2 separate regions of the Homo sapiens genome follow, and region 1 is linked to region 2. Evidence: promoter capture Hi-C in human tissues and cell types (Jung and others, 2019). All regions are on one chromosome and are shown on one strand. Each heading gives the region's core, a stretch centred on a gene start or on the middle of the fragment in contact. The rest is flanking DNA. Distances are from core to core; before and after follow the strand shown.

The links. The method cuts DNA at HindIII sites, captures the fragments that hold promoters and counts their contacts. A contact is called where the count stands out against the background at its distance.
Region 1: a contact is called between a fragment that was not itself captured here and the fragment with the promoter of EPHX3 in region 2, in 1 of the 25 tissues and cell types used here (spleen).

What each region holds. Positions count from the first base shown.
Region 1 is chr19:15,549,747-15,554,387 of GRCh38, reverse strand. It overlaps CYP4F22 (cytochrome P450 family 4 subfamily F member 22), which reads right to left. Exons shown (of 14, transcript NM_173483.4): 13 at 3,632-3,714; 14 at 2,071-3,094. The coding sequence ends at 2,917. Among named protein-coding and RNA genes, the nearest start is that of CYP4F22, 44 kb to the right of the region's middle. RefSeq lists a silencer at 2,773-2,822. The HindIII fragment of the contact is 4,717 bases long and covers 278-4,641 here.
Region 2 is chr19:15,230,174-15,234,506 of GRCh38, reverse strand. EPHX3 (epoxide hydrolase 3) reads left to right here and starts at 2,059. Exons shown (of 7, transcript NM_024794.3): 1 at 2,059-2,538; 2 at 2,646-2,731; 3 at 3,111-3,268; 4 at 3,417-3,545. The coding sequence starts at 2,296. RefSeq lists a silencer at 1,310-1,469 and an enhancer at 1,808-2,309. The HindIII fragment of the contact is 16,546 bases long and covers 1-4,333 here.

The sequences.
Region 1 (4,641 bases), core at 1,387-3,886, 320 kb before region 2:
CATCTTTGCTCACACTGTCTCTGTTTAACAGAGCACACAAAGTCCTGTGGAAGTCCTGGCATGGTGGCTCACACCTGTAATTCCAGCACTTTGGGAGGCTGAGGTGGGAGGATCGCTTGAGACCAGGAGTTCAAGACCAGCCTGGGCAACATGGTAAGACCCCCGTCTCGATAACAAATACAAAGCTTAGCTGGGCATGGTGGTGTGTGCCTGTGGTCCCAGCTACTCAGGAGGCTGAGGCAGGAGGATCGTTTGAGCCCAAGGAGGCCAAGGCTGCAGTGAGCTATGGTTGCACCCCTGCACACCAGCCTGAGCAACAAAGCATGACCCTGTCTCAAAAAAAAAAAAAAAAAAGTTCGTATGACAAAGCTTGTCCCTCCTCTGCTCAGAACTCCCCATTTCTGTCACAAAAAAAGTCACAGAAAAGGCCCTGTGTGAATTTACTTCTTTCTTTACTTATTTATCATTTATCATATCTCCTCCCTAGAGGTAAACTCTGGGAACCTAGGGCTCAAACAGTGCCTGTCTCACGGCAGATTGCCCAAGAAATATTTGGTAAATTAATTTTTTTTTTAGACAGAATCTCACTCTGTCGCCCAGGCTGGAGTGCAGTGGCACAATCTCGGCTCACTGCAACCTCCACCTCCCAGGTTCAAGCGATTCTCCTGCCTCAGCCTACTGAGTAGCTGGGATTACAGGCACCCGCCATCAAACGTGGCTAATTTTTGTATTTTTTAGTAGAGACAGGGTTTCACCATGTTGGCCAGGCTGGTCTCAAACTCCTAACCTCAGGTGATCCACCTGTCTCAGCCTCCCAAAGTGCTGGGATTACAGGCATGAGCCACCGCACCCGGCCTGTTGAATTAATATTATTGTCTCTAGTGACCTAGATGGAAATAGTCTACAGGCAAATGCTACCTAAAAGGAAGATGATACCACTATTATACCACCACTATATATATAATGATGGCATATATAGTGCATATATATATATTATATATGTGGTATAATAGCAGTATCATTTTCCTTTAGTGTAGCATTTTATATGTATAAAATTGCTGACATTGTCATTGCCCACCTTTTTTTGTTTGTTTGTTTTTGGAACAGGGTCTTGCTCTGTTGCCCCAGCTGGAGTGCAGTGGTGTGATCATAGCTCACTGCAGCCTCAAACTCCTCAGCTCAAGTGATCCTCCTGCCTCAGCCTCCCAAGTAGCTGGGACTACAGATGTGCACCATCACACCTGGCTAATTTTTTATTTTTTGTAGAAATGGAGTCTCACTGTGTTGCCCTGGCTGGTCTCTAACTCCTGGTCTCAAGCAATCCTCCAGCCTCAGCCTCCCAAAGTGCTGGGATTACAGGTGTAAGCCATCACGCCTGGCCCCCATCTTTTATATTCCCATATCAGGGACTACTCTACCATCAAGTTCCCTCAGCCAAATACCTGAGCATCACCCTTACCACCTCCCTCCCCTCAGCCCCCACTGCTAGATAGTCACCCCAATCCTGGCCCTTCCTGTTGTCTGGACCTCAGCTTCCCTCTTTCCCAGGGTCCCAACCCCGCAAGTCACCTCCCTGCCAGCCCTAGATCTGGCCATGTCCTGTCCTGATCCCGCTCACACACTCTCCATGGCTCCCTATTGCCCTCAGCATAAAGCCTGTGCATTTGGCCCCTTCCTTCATTCTGCCCCCACTTCCCAGATCCAACCACCTGGCCCCTGGTGAGTTCCTCAAACACACTCTGTTCTCCCTCAGCTCAGGGTATTCTCAGATGTTGTTCCTTCTGCCTGGAATACTCTTCCCTCCCCTTGTCACCCACTCAACTTCCATTCCAGCATCGGAGAAGCTCTCCCTGACCCATCCCCATCCCTCTGCTATATTCATCCAGCACCCGGGGCCTCTCCTTTGGAGCACCTGTCCTGGGTTGTAAATAAACCTTTACACGTGGAATTATTTGTTCAACATCTGTCCCCCACCCCCTAAGAAGGCAGAAAACAGGGCCTGCCTGTGGTTCTGAAGCAGTGCCAGCAAACAATATGTGATCTGTTGATGAAATAAATGAACACACAAACTGACCCCCAAAATCTGAGTTTATGTCCTAGGATAAATGGCTTTCCAGCCTCCTAGCCCGCAGCTTCGCTCAGTTGCAGAGCCCCTCATTCCCATGCTGGGGGCTCCACGTGTAAGGATCTGGCTGAGCTAGGGGTGGAGGGTGGGGTAAGTCTGCATCCTTTGCTTTTATTCTGCAAAAACAGAACACTCAGCAAAGGATCTTTGGGCAAGGGAGGAAGGAAGGGGCTTACAAGGGTCTGAGTTTACAAAACAACAACAAAAGCAAGCAGCCTCGAACCCTACGATCCAGCCTCACGCCTGAGCAGTCTGCCCGTATGAGCTGAGGGCCTCAGGAGGGTGATGTCCGAGTTAAAAGCTCTGACGTCAGGCTCCAGCTTTCCTCAGTTTGGAAGCCTGCCAGGGGTTCAGCCAGTTGGGGGGGGGTGGGGTGTGGTGGGCCCTGAGTCATAGGTGGGTCTTAGGTCCTCTGAAGGCTCAGTGGGCAAGGCCTGGAGACCTGGATCTGCAGGGGCGTGGCCTGAGGACCTCAATCCGTAGGATCCTGGGGGCGGGGCCTGAGCCCAAGGGGGCAGGGTCGACCCTGGTCCCTCAAACAGGACAGGTGCGAGAAGTCAGGGGGCGGGACCTAAGCCTCAAGGGGCGGGATCAGGCCCCCTAAGGGGAGGAGCCTTGCCTTGAGGGGCGTGGCCAGTACCACCAGGCTGCTCAACAGCGGTGCCTGGTCATCCAGGAGCTGAACCTGAACTTCGAGGGGGGTGGCCTATGCCCTCGGGATCTTTGGGGCGAGTCCTGGTCCTTTGGGGGCGGGGCCTGGACCCTCGGGAGCCGCAGGGGCGCGCCCACGCTCAGGCCCGCGGAGGCAGCGGCTCCACCTTGAGCCAGAGCCCGTTCTCCGTGCGCAGTATGAGCTCCGGCTTCCGCCGCACCTTGCGCGTTCGGTCCACGCTCAGGCGGAAACGTAGCAGTGTTAGTGCCACAACCACGCGCAACTCGGCCATGGCGAAGCTCTGTCCGATGCAATTCCTGGAGGAAGAGGGGACAGGGCTCAGGCCCAGCTTCTGTGTGAGCACTGGTCCCCGGGGGTCACATGCCTCCTTTGAAAATGAAGCAAGCATCCTGGGCTGGCTGAGGGTTAAAGTGAAACCCCACGCTGGGTGAGGGTTAAAGTGAGACCCCACGGATCGCTCAATTAATGTGACCTTGGGGTTGAGTGTCTGAATCCCAGTACAGCCTCTTACTAGCTGTGTGTCCTGGATACACAGCGCCCCCTCTGAGTCTCAGTTCCTTCATCTGTAAAAACGGGGACAAAGGCATCATAGAGCCAATGGGAGCGTGGGAGCCCAGAACTCAGGGCCTGACACACCGTTGGTGCTCAATACCCAGGATGCTATTGCAGAGTCTGATTTGGGGGCCTCCTGGCGCATTGGGGAGAGGGTGCTGGGTCTTCAGAAAGGACGCCTGGGTGCCATCTGATCTCTGCTCCTGAGAGGCACATTCCTGATCTTTCCCTGCCTCTGTTCCTACACAGCTGGCTTGGACTAGGGGAAATAGAGGGGTTACCTGGGTCCTGCAGAGAAGGGCACATAGGCCAGTGGAGAGCGCTGCTGTGGGTTGTCCGGGTCAAAGCGGTAGGGGTTGTACACCTAGGGAGGAACAGCCTGGAGATGAGTCTGGGGGCTGCCCCAGACATCCCAGCCTGGCCCCCTTCCCTGAGCCTCTGGGGGTCAGTAAAGATGGATGGGGAGCACCCCAGGGCCACCTCTTCCATTCCACCTTGCACTTCCTGCAATGCAGCCACACCTGCCTCCTTCTGTTGTTCACACGCACCAGTGAGATTCCACCTCAGGGCCTTTGCACTTGCTGTTTCCTCTGCCTAGAACAGGCTTCTCCCTGATCCTTCATCCCCTAAGTTCTCAGCTCAAACATCTCCTCGGCAAGGCCTTTCATAACCACTCGAGCTAAAGTGCCCCCTCCACCTGTTTTTCTTTTTTTTTGTTTGTTTGTCTGTCTTTGTTTGTTTGTTTGTTTGTTAGAGTCAGAGTCTCACTCAGGCTGGAGTGCAGAAGCGCGATCATAGCTCATTGCAGGCTGGGCGCGGTGGCTCACGCTTGTAATCCCAGCACTTTGGGAGGCCAAGGCAGATGGATCATCTGAGCTCAGGAGTTCAAGACCAGCCTGGCCAACATGGTGAAACCCCATCTCTACTAAAAATACAAAAAAATTAGCCAGGCATGGTGGCACACACCTGTAATCCCAACTACTCAGAAAGCTGAGGCAGGAGAATCTCTTGAACCCAGGAGGTAGAAGTTGCAGTGAGCCAAGATCGCACCACTGCACACGCTCCAGCTTGGGCAACAGAGCAAGACCCAGTCTCAAATAAATAAATAAATAAATAACCATAGCTCATTGCAGCCTCAAACTGCTGGGCCCAAGCGATCCTCCTGCCTCAGCCTCCCGAGTGGCTGGCACTGCAGATGTGCATCACCATGGCTGGCTAACTTTTTTTTTTTTTAGAAATGGGGTCTCACTGTGTTGCCCAGGCTGGGCTGAGCTGGAACTTCTGGCCTCAA
Region 2 (4,333 bases), core at 810-3,309:
ATAGCAAGTCGTCTCTCTGAAAAGTTTTTGAAAAATTAGCTGAGTGTGGTGGCACAGGCCTGTAGTCCCAACTACAGGTTGTAGTGCTTGAGCCCAGGAGTTCGAGGCTGCAGTGAGCTATGATCGAAACTCCATCTGAAAAAAAAAGAAAAAGCTAAAAACGTTCCAGTGGCTGCTTCCGGGAGGAAGGGGAGGTGTAGCCACAGATCGCTGCCTTTTTCCCTACATCTTTGCGGATGGCTATTTTACAAGATGTATGTCTTCAGGCAAATGACTTCATCCTCGAATTTCAGGTTCATGATCTATACTACAGGAATGTGATTATGCTACTTAGACTTAATAGGGTTGCTCTATGGTTAAGTGATGGCTGTCCCTAAAATGTTCAAGGATATCGGGAGAAGGTTGCAAAATAGGAGGAAGAAGCTGGCTGCTTTTTTTTTTTTTTTTGAGACGGAGTCTCGCTCTGTCGCCCTGGCTGGAGTGCAGTGGCGCAATCTCAGCTCACTGCAACCTCCGCCTCCTGGGTTCACGCCGTTCTCCTGCCTCAGCCTCCCTAGTAGCTGGGACTACAGGCGCCCGCCACCACGCCTGGCTAATTTTTTGTATTTTTAGTAGAGACAGGGTTTCACCATGTTAGGATGGTCTCGATCTCCTGACCTCGTGATCCGCCCGCCTCGGCCTCCCAAAGTGCTGGGATTACAGGCGTGAGCCACCGCGCCTGGCCAGAAGCTGGCTTCTTGCAGGGACAGCAGGGCCGCAAGGCTCTGTGACTCTAGGCCCCATCACACCCGGCCCTGTCCCACTTCCTCTTTCGGCCAGAACCCCAGAACTCCAGTCATTCATAGGCCGGGTCCTCCTCGGGGGAACCAGGCCTGCCCCCTAGGAATCAGGGTATCCACGCCTCCTCGGCCCGCTCTCGGAGCCTGGGCCTCAACACCTGCAGATTGGCTCCCGGGCCAGGACCTGTCGCTTGAACATCAGTGGCCGCCGCCGTCCAATCACAGACGTACAGGGGCGGGCTGGCGGGCCTGTTGGGCCAGCAGGAGGACGGCGCCGGGCCGAGGCCGCTGGACCCGCCGTTGGAACCACAGCTGGGTGAAGTCAGTGCTGCTAGGTCTTTGGAGCCAGACCGAAGGGAGGGTCGCGCGCCCCTGGGTGGGTAGCACCAGGCGGCGGCCGTCGGCCGGGCCTCCCGAAGCCTCCTCCAGCCGCTAATACCGCCCGCGCCTCCCTCCTAGTCCTAGACCTGGCATTGCCTGTCCCTCTTCTTCGTCTTCCAGACCCTCCTGACCCGCCATATTAGGTCCCGGCCCCGCCCTCCGTCTCATTGCCCATTGCCCACCCCACCCCACCGCCCCCTCCCCGGCCTACCGTCAGCTCATTGGCCCAGGCTCCCGCCTTCTTCGCCCAATGTTAGGCCTCACCTCCTCTAGGATCCACCCTCTCCCCGCCCACCCGCATAAGCCAGGCCCACCATTCCAACTCTTTCTCCTTTTTGGCTTGTAGGCCGCACCTACTCTGCATATGCCCCGCCCCTCACTCCAGGTGTCGCCCACTTAACTGAAGATCCAGGATCCCCTCCTTAAGGTTTGTCTGGGCTCGGAATTGCCTTTTTTTTTTTTCTTTTTTGAGACGGAGTTTCCCTGTTGTGACCCAGGCTGGAGTACAGTGGCGCGATCTCAGCTCACTGCAACCTCCACGTCCCGGGTTCAAGCGATTCTCCTGCCTCAGCCTCCCAAGTAGCTGGGACTACAGGCGCCCGCCACCACGCCCAGCTAATTTTTGTATTTTTAGTAGAGACGGGGTTTCACCACGTTGCCCAGGCTGGTCTCGAGCTCTTGATCTCAGGTGATCCGCCCGCCTCGGCCTACCAAAGTGCTGGGATTACAGGCGTGAGCCACCGCACCCGGCCCGGAATTGCCGCCTTTAGACCCTCACCCACCCGCTGCTGAGTCTTCCTGGGCCCCGCCCCGGCCCTAAGCCCCGCACAGGACCTGCTAGGCCCCGCCCATTTATTTCCCCCCTTTCCAACCTCTTCCTCCCCAGCCTCCGCACCCTACCCTTGTTTCCTGTCCCTGTCGCGCCCAGGTGTTTACCTGGCACTCAGGTGAGTGGTGCGCTCTGGCTGTTTTCTGTCGGAGCCGCCCGCCTCTTCCTTCAGCGCGTCCCACAAATCCCGACGGCACGGAGGGGCCCCAGGCCAAGGGCGATGGGCCCCTGAGCCCTGACACCGCTTCGCCGCTGCTGCAGGTGCCCCTGGCCGGCAGCGCCGCCGTGGTCCCGGAGCGCGGCGACATGCCGGAGCTGGTGGTGACCGCGCTGCTGGCGCCGTCGCGCCTGTCGCTGAAGCTGCTGCGCGCCTTCATGTGGAGCCTGGTGTTCTCGGTGGCGCTGGTGGCCGCGGCGGTCTACGGCTGCATAGCGCTCACGCACGTGCTGTGCCGGCCCCGGCGCGGCTGCTGCGGGCGCCGTCGGAGCGCGTCCCCCGCCTGCCTGAGCGACCCCTCGCTGGGTGAGCACGGTTTCCTGAACCTCAAGGTGATCGCACGGGGGCGCTATCGGGGCTGCGGGGTCGCGTGGGGTCGAGACGGTTCAAGCCTCGGGAGAGAGGGTTCCCCAGGCTTCAGGCTGTGCCCTCCCCCTAGAGCTCGGGCCTGCGTCTGCACTATGTCTCGGCTGGACGAGGTAACGGACCCCTCATGCTGTTTCTGCACGGCTTCCCTGAGAACTGGTACGTCTGGGGCCAGGGGCCTGAGGCCCACGGGACTCGGGGGCAGGTGGAGCTTGGGCTCCCAAGAGGCAGGGAGGAGGGCTGTATAGATCGGGACAAGCTGAACATAGATGGGGATAGGGGTACTGAGCCAGCATACCCAGGATCCCTAGGCCCTGAAGGGACAGGACAAAGGGGTATTGAGGTTGATTGAAGTTCCCTGGATTCAGGGTGTAGCTGGCTTCAGCCTCAGCCTCTGCCTCTGCCTGGGATTCCCCATCCTCCTTTTAGGGGAAGTTTAGAGCAGGAAGGAGGGTTTGCCAATGGTTGCTGATGTGCGTAGGGTGCAGGTGCAACCTGAGGGCCCTGACTCAGCCTCCCTCCCTCGCCCGCCTGGCAGGTTCTCCTGGCGTTACCAGCTCCGGGAGTTCCAGAGCCGCTTCCATGTTGTGGCTGTGGACTTGCGAGGCTATGGCCCCTCGGATGCACCTCGGGATGTGGACTGCTACACAATCGACCTGCTGCTGGTGGACATCAAAGATGTCATCCTAGGCCTGGGTGCAGACATACCCCCATCCTAGGCGTGGCCTCCCTCATCCTGCACACACGCATACCCCCGCTTTCTCCTTGCTGGAACCTACTTCCCCCATCCCTGCTTCAGTCCTACTGGGCACCTCACTTATGCGAGCTCCTTGAATTCCCACAGGTTACTCGAAGTGCATCCTTGTGGCCCATGACTGGGGTGCCCTCCTTGCCTGGCATTTCTCCATCTACTACCCATCCCTGGTCGAGCGGATGGTTGTGGTCAGTGGTGCCCCCATGTCGGTGTACCAAGGTGTGTGTGGGAGTCCGGGACACTGGGATGTACTTATGTGCAAGGGGGCAGGGACATGTGTCTGTGTTTTCAATTCTCTGTATACCTGTCAACACATCAGGGGCTGAGGGTGCAGCAATCAACCCAGGTCCCTTCGGTTGTGGAACTCCTCATTCGGAAATTAATGACACGCCAGACCCAGTGGCTCACACCTGTAATCCCAGCCCTCCGGGAGGCTGAGGTGGGAGGATCACTTGAGGCCAGGAGTTCAAGACCAGTCTGGTCAACATAGCAAGACCCCAACTGTCTCTACAAAAAAAAAAAAAAAATGTAATTAGCCAGGCATTGGTGGTGCATGCCTGTAATCCCAGCTACTCGGGAGGCTGATGCAGGAGAATCTCTTGAACCTGGGAGGTGGAGGTTGCAGTGAGCTGAGATCATGCCATTGCACTCCAGCCTAGGCAACAAGAGCAAAACTCCATCTCAAAAAATAAATAAATAAAATAAAGTATGGCCAGGCGTGGTGGCTCCTGCCTGTAATCCCTGCACTTTGGGAGGCCAAAGCCGGTGGATTGCTTGAGCCCAGGGGTTCAAGACCAGCCTGGCCAACATGGTGAAACCCCGTCTCTACTAAAAATACAAAAAAATCAGCCAGGCATGGTAGTGCACGCTTGTAGTCTCAGCTACTCGGGAGGCTGAGGCAAGAGAATCACTTGAACCTGAGAAGTGGAGGTTGCAGTAAGCCAAGATCGCACCACTGCACTCCAGCCTGGATGACAGAGTGAGACTCTGTCTCAAAAATAAAATAA